3 separate regions of the Homo sapiens genome follow, and all the other regions are linked to region 2. The links are contacts of gene promoters, found by promoter capture Hi-C in human tissues and cell types (Jung and others, 2019). All regions are on one chromosome and are shown on one strand. Each heading gives the region's core, a stretch centred on a gene start or on the middle of the fragment in contact. The rest is flanking DNA. Distances are from core to core; before and after follow the strand shown.

Region 1 (3,999 bases), core at 623-3,122, 250 kb before region 2:
ACATCCTGATTTGGCCTCTAGCCACCATTCTCTTCTAAAAGGAATCAGGGCTTCTTGAGCCATGCCTATGTCCAAGGCTAAGAAAGGGAATGTACAAAATGACCCTGGCACATGTTGTGCCAGAGATCAAAGTAGCGTAAAAAGAATAAAAGGAACATGTCCATAGGACATGGGAGCCAACTTAACAGGGTTCCCACTGACCAAATCAGAGAAACCAGAGCAACAGAATGAGTGTAATAGATTATAATTCATAGAATAAAACAGGAAACTGCTAGTTTATACTGATAAATAATATTGAACATATCTTGAAGAATGGAATATGAACATATTTTGAATGTAACTTCCCCAAATAATACTTAGTACTTGTAAAGGAAAAGACATTTCACAGTGGAGTGGGACGGGGCATTCTATCTTATTCAAGGGATGGGACAACACAAGCACCATGTTGCTTTTGCAATATCCTTGCCAAAGGATATTGGCAACAATCTGGTGGCCTGGATCTGATCTTGAAGAAACATCAAGAAAATCTGAGTTTGGGGCAAGAAGTATTCTACATAAGGACTGGCCTGAAATTTTCAAGTGTTAAGGCCCTCCAAGTCAGGGAAAGAAGAATTCTAAAGGGGCGTGATAACTGAAGCAATAGGTTATACTTTTGGTATACAAAGGATGTTCCCGGGACGATTGAGGAAACTCGGGTGAGTCTGAGGATGGGATGTAGCCATGCATCAGTGCCAGCCTGCTGATTTTGATGGATGCAGTGTGGTTATGCAGGAGAATGTCCTTGTTTGTGGGAAACACACACTACAGGACACACAGGTGATGGCAGCAGGTCAGGGACAGACTCTCAAAGAGTTCCAGAAGAATGTCCCACACTTCCAGCCTTCTGTAAGTTAGCAGTTGCTGATATAAAAAGATACAAGAAGAGGTGCACTGTACAGAGGGATGACAGAAAGGCTCTCTGAGAGCCAGGAGAAGGTGGCATATGAAATGCAGCTTGAAGATTGATTCTGAGTTTCCAAGATGCTCGATAAGGTGTCTTGTTATTGTTAGGATTCCGAGAAAGTGCACCAGCAACTTCCCTTTGTGCCCAGTCCTTTCTCTTTCTCTGGATCTCAGGGACCCAAGACCTCTAGAAAGACAGCTCCCTTTTTCTATAGGTGTTTCTAGGAGAAACAGAGGTGGGGGGATGAGCACACCAACAGAAGATTTCCATCTTCTTATGTACCAGCTCTATCTCACACTGACTCCAAACTGAGGTTTCACATCTCCGAAAGCTTTAATCACTGAGATCCTCCCTCCTCCCCTCCTTCCCTCCCTCCCTTCCTTCCTTTCTCCTGTCCTTTCTTCCCTCCTTCTGTCCTTTCTTTTTTCTTCCCTTCCTCTCTCACTCATTTATTCATTCATTCATTCATCCATGCTTTAAAAAAGTAATGGCATCATTGTATTAGGTGCTGAGATACATGATTAGGTGCTTACATGAGTAAGCAAAAATAAGAAAGACAAATTTTGTCTTCAAGGCCCAGTAGGGAAGCTAGATGTCGACCATAGATGCACAACCATAAGTGCAAAATTATAACCATAAGTGCTTCGACAGGGAGGTATGTGGAAATAAGAAAGCACACTATGGAAACTGACTTGGGCAGGAAGGTTAAAAACAATCTCTGAGGAAAGGAAAACTTCAATGACTAAAATAACTCAAGGTTCCGAGTTAAGATTCGAAACCACTGATTATGAGTTCCTGAAGGGACAGGCTAAGCTGCTACAAGAGAGGCCCAAAAATATCGAAGTCCAACAATACCCAGTTCTCTCTCTTGCTGGTAACGGCCTGGAGGTGTGTGGGTCCAGGGCGGGTCTTTGCTCAGCCCCACAGGGAATCCCAGCGCCAAGGACCTTCCCTCTTTTTGCTTTGCTTCTTTCAGGCACTGACCTCACCTGCACTGTTGAAGCCACTTCCTCTGTTCCACATCTGAGTTCCAGCTGGAGGAAGGAGGAAATCAGGTCTTGGGAGACAAGCCATTTTCTTCTTAAAAGATGCAGAGGCCGAGCACAGTGGTTCACGGCTGTCAGGATCCCAGCACTTTGGGAGGCCGAGGCAGGAGAATTGCTTGAGCCCAGGAGTTTGAGACCAGCACAGACAACATAGTGAGACCCTCTCTCTACTAAAAATAAAAAAAATTAGCCGACACAGTGGCACGAGCCCATAGCCCCAGCAACTTGGGAGGCTGAGATGGGAGGGTCACTTGAGCCCAGGCGTTCCAGGCTGTGGTGATCTGTGATCACACTACTGCCCTCCAGCCGGGACAACGGAGTGAGAACCTGTCTCTAAAACAATGAATCCATAAATAAATATAAACGAATAAAAGGTGTGGCCTAGAGGTCGGCTGCGCATTTCCATTCACACCCATTGGCTGGAACATTGTCATATGGCCCACGGGAAATGAGACTCTCAGGGGGTGATCAGGGCATTCACTGTGTCCCACAGCTGATTCTGTGAGTTTAGTTTCTGATCTGCTTCCAGGGCGAGGCACTAAGAGGGTGTTTTGAATGAAACTCTTTGAGTTTCATTATCAACTCAGCCGGTAACTACTGTCGCCAGCAGCTGAGAGGCCCAGACAAAAGAGTGCCAGCAGGAACCTACCTGCGTGAGTCCCCATCAGGGGTCAGATGGCGGGCACAGCTTCAATGACACAACCACAATGTGAAATTTTAAGCATTTTTAGTACTCACAGACCCTGGGAAGTACACAGCATGCATAGAGGCCACACACACACATGCACGCACTCACACATACTCACGTACACAGGCACACAGGGAGGTCAGGGAGCACGGCACAGTGGGTGGTGGGAGTGACCCATGGGCCAACGTCCTCACTGGGCCCAGGGTGTTATCCCAACAGGTTTCCCGTGGGGAGCTTTAATGCTGGGTTTAAAGCAAGCAGGCACTATTTCTAGGAGGTCACGCTGTGTCTGAGAGGTGGCAAATGTCTGAATGGTTCCTTTAAGGAAGTGGCAGAAGAGCCAGGAGCCCAGTCTGCTAGGTAAGGCAGACCTCTCAGTTTTATTTCTGGCCATTGCCTGGGGCCACTTGGATTGGGGATATCATTAACAACTGTGCCAACGGGGACTGAGCCCTGCTTCTGGTATAAAAAATTAAGCTTCAATTTAAAAATGGACACTGAGATGATGTAAAATTATAAGCATTTGATACGCTGAGACAAGCCTGTGGCTGCTGGGAGGCCACACTGCCCTGCAGCCGGGGGCTATTGGGGCAGAGGGTGCCACGGACAGATGAGGTTAACGGCTGCTCTGAGTAGGCAGGAAAACCGAGTGAGTCTCTGGGACAGAGTAGGAGAAGAGAGTGCTCTACGGGGACAGCAACTGGACACTGTGGGCTCCCATCCCCCAGTGTCCCGGGGACAGCAACTGGACACTGTGGGCTCCCATCCCCCAGTGTCCCAAGGAGTGTCAGAGCCTCTTGTCACATACACCCCCTTCAACTCCCTCTGCCCTTCAGTAAGGAGAGGCCATGGGCTTGGAGCAAGACAGCCTGGGTGCTCCTATCCCAGCTCTATCCCTTGTTACAGTGTGACTCTGGGCAAGGCATCTAATCTCTACGGAATCAGTTTGGTCATTGGTGAAACAGAACTAAAGCATCTCCCTCTCCATCTACTGTGCACCACCTGCCACAGCCCCTGGAACGTGCTTAGGATGCATACCAGGGTACAAGCTTAGGAAGTGTGGGCACCCACCCCAGCCCATGGACCTGTGTGCTCCCTGCGTTGAGCCTGAGATGCCATGCTTCTCTCTACTCTCTCTACCACTGTGGGATCCCTTGGTGATTTTGGTTTTCTGTTAGTAAACTTCTGTGTTTGGGATCTCGTTGTCTAGACAAATAACCACCCTCATCCCTGCCATCTGCCCAGTGCTTCACACCCTCGCTACACACAGTGTGGTCCTCCTGTCAGGTGTCAGCATCACTGGAGAATATTAGAAATGCAGA
Region 2 (3,967 bases), core at 610-3,109:
CAAATATTCTTAAATTCTTGGAGACAGTAAAGAGTCTCTCCTCCACCATCGGTCAACCACACACACACTCTACTCTGAAGAACTGGTTGAAACAGGCAAAAACTGGAGGTCACTGTTTTAAAATATAGGTATCTATATACAAATAGAATATGTCTGCCTCATCTTTCACTTCCAACAATAAAAAAGCCAGGGCGAGCACTAAGAGCAGCAGATCCGATTCATCTAGGGAACCACAGACTGTCAGTGCACAGTAATTCCTGCAAAAGGTAACAGATCTGACCAGATCATGTTGCTGCCATTTCCCAGAGAAAAGACAGACCAGTGGCACCCACACCCATCTTCATCTGAAACACATATTCCAGGAAAAGTAGGAGACTGCTCCCAGGAAGGAAGGCTTAATTTACCGTGCATGCCAGCAGATGATTCAGGAAGCCACAGGAGGAAAAAGCCAGGGGAACACTGTCCCGGGTAGGCGTGCCTCCAGAAATCTCTGTATCCCTGACCCGCAGTACTTCCTAGGATCTTTCACACCCTGAGCTGGCTGGAGTCGTGTGAAAATGGCAAGGACTCCCTTCACCACTATTCCGAACCTCAAGCCAGCCACCAATGAGGGTCACCCAACCCAACGCCCTCCGGAACGGTGCTCTTTTGCCGGCCTCTTCTCCCCTACTGACTTCTCCAAGGGCCAGCCTGCAAGGCTTGGCATGGGCTGCCCATCCCCTGGGAGGGCTGACTGCCCCGCCAGGGCTGTTGGAGCCTGGACACAGGAGAGACAAAGGGCTGGGAGGGGGAACTGGGCTCCTCCCCTGGGACCACGGAGCTCCTCTCCTCTCAGGTGCTGGGGTCTGACCCCAACCCTCTTCCAAGGTCCCCAAACTTCGCTAACAATGCAAGCACCTGTTCCCTTCACCTCTTCTGCATTTGAGTCCCTCAAGTCCTTCCATTTTCCTCCAGCTTTTTCTCCAGTACCTTAGACAAACCAAACGCCCTACTTCCCCGAGTCCAACACGCTCCCCTTCCATGACATAATTCAACCTCGTTCCCAACGAAGCCCCCAGATGGTCGCTGTCCCCCACCCAGAAGTTTCCCCTGGGTGTGCCCGAGTCCCCAAAGATTTCCTTCAAGTCTCACCCATGCGCCCCAGCCTTCTCCTTCCAAGTCCCCAAAATTCACATCAGGGTCTTCCCCTAGGTGTCCCACAGCCTCCCAGGTCCCCGTGCAAACGACCCCGGGGGCCACCCGGGCCTCCGTCTCCGCCGCGTCCGCTGACAGCAGAGGGCACGGAGGGGCCCCCTGGGCCCCCGCGTTTCCACCCGGCCCCCAACCGCCGCCGGCCGGCAGTTAACGGCCGGCGCCTCACCTTGGTTCACCAGGCGCAGGGCGTGCGTGAAGGAGGGGTCCAGGGAGTCCTTCTCCGCCATCAGCTCGGGCAGGTACTTCTCCTCCATGCTCGCCGGCCGCCGGGCCCGGGATGTGGACTCCAGGCGCACGGGGGGCGGCGCCCGGCAACCCCCGACCCCGCCCGCGCCCCCAGCGGCGGGGACCCGGGGGCCAGACGCGGCAGCAGCGGCCAAGCCGGGCGGTCGGCCGGAAGGCGGCGGCGGCGGCACGGGGGCGGGAACCGACCGCTCAGCCCCGATCCCCGGTGGCCGCCGAGTACCCAGCGCCGGCGGCCCCCGCGCTCCGGGCGCGGGCCGAGGAGGAGCGGGCGCGGGCGGCGCGGTTAGGCGGGCCCTCGGGCCGAGCGGGCTGCGGCGCCCCTGAGGCAGTCCACGGCGATCCCCGCCAGTCCCGCCAGCACCTGCCAGCACCCGAGCCACAGCTGCGACCTGCACGCCGCGCGCCGCCCCGCGCACTCTGAGCCACCGCGCCGAGCGCCCAGCGCCTGCCGCCGGCCCCGCCCCGCCCGGCTCCGCCCCGCCCCGCCCCGCGCCCGCCGCCCCGCCCTGCCGCGCCGCGCCTGCGCACTGGCGCCCACCGCCCCGCCGCCCGCCGCCTCCTGGGGCCGCTCTCCACTGCGAGTCCGCCGGGACTAACCGGGCGTTTGCGAGAGGGGGTGCGTCCAAGGGCCCCTCCCGCGTGTCCGGCGCCCACCTTTGGCCCTGAGGGCCGAGTGGGGAGCCCCACGACGCTATTACAGCCTTTCAGATGCACGGACTGGGAAACTGGGGCTCAGAGAAGTCAAGTGGCTCGCCCAAGGTCACCCAGCGAGTGATCCTGGGAAGAGGGGACAAGGGCCGAGCTGGAGCTGGGAAGGGCGCCCCAGTTCGCCCCAGTCGCGCTCTGAGGAATAGCAGCGGGACCGCCCTGCTCTCTAAAGCTTCCTGGACTTCTCTAAGTTATGTCGCGTTGCTGTCCCCTCGTACTTATAAGAGAGTAAGGCAGGGGCGCCGTCCTTTCTCCGCGCCTGAGCTCAGAGCGCCAACCTCCTGAGATCCGCCAGCTCAGAGGTCGGTTACATAAAAGCGCGTGCCCTTCTGGGCGTCTTTGTCATCCCGACTTGCTCCTGGGTTGTCATTCTCTTAGGTCATAAACCGGCTGTGCCTGGACACAGCTGAGTGAGCCGCGTCTGAGCTCATCCGCTCCTGGGGAGAGGCCCTGGGACGCCCCGCCTGTCGGTGGCAATGCTCTCTGTCCCCTTCCGCCCACCCCCAACCCCCAGCAAATGCTCTCCAAGGCCATTTCAGATTTCCCGAGGCATGTGGAATAAACGTCCCCCAGGAAGGCGAAGGACTCCAGTCCTTGCCCTGCCATTTTTCCTGCCTTCAAACAGCCAGCTCAAGTCCCGGCCTCAATGTCACCTTCCCTGGACAGCCTCTCAGGACCTCCCTGGCAAAGCAAGTCACAAGTCCCTTCTCTGTGTCCCCCCAGCTTGGTCAGAGGTCATTCACAGACAGCTGTAATTCTGTTTTCAGTAGACCATGAGCATCAGGGACAGAGTTTGAGTTTTGTTTTTGAGGGGGAAGGTCACCAGTGTGTAGTACAGGGGGCAGGGATGGAGGGTACTGGAAATGTCTCTTGGAGGAATAAGTCAGTGGCATACCACTCTCAGCCAATAGCCTGAGGACAATCGCCACAGTCCCCCAGGCAGCCCCCCCGCACTCCCAATGCAAATGGAGGCAGCTTTACAAACCCGAGGGGAGTGGGAGGTGGTAGAAATCTTGGAAGCTCTAAGTCCCAGACCCGAGTACTCAACTGCCCTCACTCTCAAGGCTCCACTCCTCCCCCGGCTAAGGTGTCATTTCAGAGTCCCCAGTAAGAGTCTTCTTCATGGCTCTCTTCAGTCTCAACTTGCAAGAAGCAGAAAAATGGCACAGTTAAAAGCAAAGCCTCTGGGGTTAAACAGCCTGGATTTGGAATCATGGATCTGCTGCTCACTAGCTGTGACCTTGGGCAAGTTTCTTCACCTCAGGGTCCTCATCCGTCAAGTGGAGATGACAACCAAACTTATTTCATAAGAAGTTCATGAGAATAAATATGTTAACTCATAATGAAATACCCAAAACAGCACTCTGCCTATCGGAAATGCTGAGCTGATCTTTGCTTTGGGTTTTTTCCGGCTGCAAGGCTGTCCTCTGGGCCTTCTGAGCCTCCCTCGCCTTCCCTTCAGCTGTAACTCCAGGGATGCTGGGCAGACACCCATCTGTGGACTCCTCACTGCTGGTCGTGGTGCTTCGCCCCGGCCTGGCCAACTGAGTGAAGGACCTGTGACTGTCGCACCTCTGTTTCTGACCTGGGCCCAGCGTCAGGCTTGTAGGCTGCTTGTGGCTGCTCTTCTCAATCCCAGGTCTATGACTGGCCTCTCAGCCCCAGAAACAAAAAGGGCACTTCCCAAACCACCCTCACCCAGAAGGGCAGGAGTCTGGATGCCTGCATCCTGGCTGCTACCTGCCTCACTATGCCACTTTGTTAATTAACTTAGAGCCTGAGCTTCCCAGTCCACACCCCCAAAACCAGGGGTATGCCA
Region 3 (3,846 bases), core at 1,068-3,567, 220 kb after region 2:
AATCAAAGCCATGATTTTATGGATATTATTCTTTCATAAATGGCAAAGTCTTAAAACAGGGTTGATTTAAATTAACTGGAAAGAAAAGCTTTAAGAGAACAGTGGTGTGTGATTACAAGAAAACAGTGATTATTAGGAAGACAGTGAATTGGCTCAAATCTCATTTATAGAAAATGAATGTGGGTCCTAGGGAGGCTAAGAGACACCAGAAAGTCCCCAGTAGCTCAGCTGCAGACCCTACCCAGCTTCAGGTCCCCTGACTCTATATGGGTCTCACAATCTACCCACATGTGAGGGACAGAGCCCAGCTCCCACACTAAGGGTCCTGCCCCATCACACAGCTGGGATCATCTTGGGTTCTAAATTCACAGAGGCCTAGGTCAGCAGCCAGCACTTTCATCCTTAATCACTTAAAAAAAAGCCTTCTTTTTTTCTGTTTATTTTATTTTATTTTATTTTTTGTCTTCAAACTTGGTATTGACAAGCCTGACAGCATGGAGCACATGTACCACGAATATTCTGTTTTTCATTGAGTCATTCACTGCTGAGGAATAACACCCTCTCCCCATACAGAAGTTCTAAACAGATTAATTGTGATAGTTTTATTCCTCAAGAAACCTCACACTCCAGCCCATCAATAACCCCCTTGAAAACAATAACCTTCTGTGAAAACACCCAGAACCCCTTGACCTATGGCTCAGTGGGAGAACTGTTGTTTTTCTGAAGCCATCTCATCAGCATGACTCAGGAGTGCAGTAATTAGTCTGACAAGGGAATAAAGTCCTGTTTCCCTTACATTTAAAAATCAACTCTTGAAATAATTTTCCACAAAGAGCCAACAGAGACCTATCCCTTTATATTAACTACCAACTGAAGCATTCCCTGGTGGCGTTTCTCCATCCTGGTCCATGCCAATTACAGCATCGTAACCTAGAATGAAGTGAAAATTGTCCATGTGGGAGACAGGGCTCTGCAATGGGAAGGAGAAGAGATCGGAGTGAGATAATCCTGGATTCTAACCTTAGTCTTGCGGCTGAGTGGTGCTTGAGGGGACAGTTGGACAGAGGAAGGCATCCTAGGCAGAGGGAAGAACACAAATGGAGCCATGGAACACAAAACCATGTCAGGAGATGAGTGAACTTCAGGAAGGGGGATGTGTCTGGAAAGCAGGGCGTGAGAGGTGTCTGGAGGCAGGAGACGGGGGCTGCAACTGATATTAAGGAGACAAGATTTTATCTGGGAGGCTGTGTGGGGTATGAAGAGAGCACTGTTGTGCAGTCAGACAGATCTGTGTTGGAGGTCTAGCTCTGCCACTTTCCAGCTGTGAAACTGGGATAACAAAGCTTCCTTTGTAGAGTTACTTTGTGATTTAGAGCTATTGCTTGCAAAGACTGTGGCACCATGCCTGGCTCAGGCACATTTTTTCATAAACAGTTGCTTCTTTGAGGAACTGAGTGGCCACTGAACGTATCCATTGTGGTGTTGAAAGATCTTCCCACCAATGCATGGAGCATAGATTTACAGAAAACACCTTTAAAAAGGCAAACTGTTCAAGGTCATTGCACTTTACTGGGTGAGGAAGAGCCTGGGGCAGAGCAGTGAATGGGGGCACAGTTGGTACAGGGAGGAGGGGCAGATGCAAGAGGTATTTGTTAAGTCAAAGGTACAGGTCCTGGCATTGATTGTACATGGCAAGGAGAGCATTGGCGACCGGCGGGGAGTGGGGCACGGGTTAGGAGTAGTAAGAGTTCAGGATGATTGCCAGGTTTTGCGTGAATAATGGGTCCATAGTGCAGCCCCCAACAAAGATGTAGAATGTGACCAGGTGTGATGGCTTGTGCCTATAAACTCAGCACTTTGGAAGGCTGAGGCAGGAGGATTGCTTCATCCCAGGAGTTTAAGACCAGCCTGGGCAACATAGTGAAACCCCATCTCTACCAAAAACAAATTAGACAGACATGGTGGTGCATGCCTGTAGTCCCAGCTACTTGGGAGACTGAGGTGGGAGGATCACTTGAGCCCAGGAGGCAGAGGTTGCAGTGAGCCATTGCACTCCAGCCTGGGTGACAGGGTGATACCCAGTCACAAAAAAAAAAAAAAAAAAAAAAAAAAAAGAATATAGAATGTCAGAAAAGAAGAAACAGTTGTTGTAGGGAGAGGTTGATTCTCAGGTAGAAGCTAAGCCAAAGCCAGAACCAGAAGGAAAAAAATATAATTAAGTTCCTGGGTTATTTACCTACATTCAGTTGAAAATTCATGTTTTTTTTTTTTGTTTTTTGTTTTTTGTTTTTTAATATGCAGAGGCAAAACATCATAATGAAAGAACACTGAACTTGGATTCCCATGACCAGGCATGCAAACTTTGTCTACCTCCTAACTACTGTGTAATTTGGGGAAAATTGCTAAGCCCGTCTGAGCTTCAGTTTTCTAGTCTGTAAAGTAGGGACAATGACAATCAGTCCTGCCGCCCCCATCAGCTGAAGCACAGTGTGCAATGTGCAGGACTTCTCACCAATCACAGGCTTGTCCTCAGGGTCTCGGTCCCTAGTGCACAGACCATTCAAACATGGGGCCCATCCTGTGGTACCTCTCAATGCTGTGATTCTGAGGGTCATGGATGCTCCTCTGTTCTGAGAAAGCGGGTGCGGAGTTCCACATTCTCCTGGATGCCTTCCATGACAGGGCTCGCTGAGAGACTCGGGAGCGGGGACAGCACGCTCCTTTGTGGGAACACACAACACTCCCTGCCATCTGCCTGAGGCAGGGAGAAAAGAAGACAATGTTCTGTCCTCAGCAGGAACTGGCGCTATCAGAAAGAGATGGAACAAGAAGATCTGTTCCATTTCAAGCCCAAGAGAGTGACCACTGATAGCTGTCCTCAGGATTCATTGAGGACTGGATGAGAGGGAATGTGGAAGAAAATTTTAGTAGGAAGGAAATAAATATGGAGGCTTGGGGGGAGAGAAGGAAGGGAGGGAGGGAGGGAGGGAGACATGGCTGGAGGAGGAGAGGAAGGAAGGAGTGGGAGGAAGGGAGGCAGGAAAGGAAGGAGAAGACAGAAAGAAGTCTACCATTTCTCGAGCCGATCCGATGTATTAGGTAAGGTGCCAAGCTTTTTCATGCCGTCTGTCATTTAATTCCCACAACAACTCTTATTTTACAGGTAAGTAAAATTATGAAGCTGAGGCCAAGAATTGTCAAGTGCCTTACCCGAGGTTAAATCAATTTTCTGAGCCACAACCTGTCTTTTCCACTAAAACATGCCACTTCCCCTTTTGATCCTCTATGTACTCAGAGTGTAAGTGAAGTCCTGGAGGAACTACAAAGTTAGACACCATGAAGAGGGGCATAGCATCCCATTGGAAACATGGGATACCTCATGCTCTTCTGGGCCAGTCTCCCCTGTTGGTCTGCTGTACTCAGTTCTGGGCTATGCCAGAGAGGAGAGAGGAGCCCTGACAACCTGACAGCCAGAGCGGGGCAGGGAGGGTGGTGATGGGTTTCCAAATCAAGTCCTATGACTGAAGAGGCTGGGAGCACTTGGCTGTCGAAGTGACCACCAGTAAGGACAGGCAGCTGTCTTGAGCCAGGTGCTGTCCTGAAGTGGGGATGGAAGTGATCGCAGTTCCAGAGGCCTGAGCTCAGAGAGCTGCAATTTTGTTTCTCATGGAGCTGGGCAACCTTCTTCCAGACCAATAGTTTGGTTCATTTCCTCTTCTTCTTCTTCTTTTTTTTTTTTTTTTTTTTTTGAGATGGAGTTTTGATCTTGTCGCCCCGGCTGGAGTGTGATGGCATGATCTTGGCTCACTGCAGCCTCCACCTCCTGGGATCAAGCAATTATCCAGC

What was found. The method cuts DNA at HindIII sites, captures the fragments that hold promoters and counts their contacts. A contact is called where the count stands out against the background at its distance.
Region 1: a contact is called between a fragment that was not itself captured here and the fragment with the promoter of KHDRBS3 in region 2, in 1 of the 25 tissues and cell types used here (H1 embryonic stem cells).
Region 3: a contact is called between a fragment that was not itself captured here and the fragment with the promoter of KHDRBS3 in region 2, in 2 of the 25 tissues and cell types used here (dorsolateral prefrontal cortex and hippocampus).

What each region holds. Positions count from the first base shown.
Region 1 is chr8:135,709,069-135,713,067 of GRCh38, reverse strand. No RefSeq gene overlaps it. Among named protein-coding and RNA genes, the nearest start is that of KHDRBS3, 250 kb to the right of the region's middle. The HindIII fragment of the contact is 4,563 bases long and covers 1-3,999 here.
Region 2 is chr8:135,455,348-135,459,314 of GRCh38, reverse strand. KHDRBS3 (KH RNA binding domain containing, signal transduction associated 3) reads right to left here and starts at 1,859. Exons shown (of 9, transcript NM_006558.3): 1 at 1,361-1,859. The coding sequence starts at 1,448. It overlaps LOC101927872 (a long non-coding RNA gene), which reads left to right and starts at 1,340. Exons shown (of 4, transcript XR_002956731.2): 1 at 1,340-1,433. RefSeq lists a silencer at 1,688-1,987. The HindIII fragment of the contact is 4,912 bases long and covers 1-3,929 here.
Region 3 is chr8:135,233,256-135,237,101 of GRCh38, reverse strand. LINC01591 (long intergenic non-protein coding RNA 1591) reads right to left here and starts at 2,971. Exons shown (of 5, transcript NR_120396.1): 1 at 2,588-2,971. The HindIII fragment of the contact is 3,202 bases long and covers 717-3,846 here.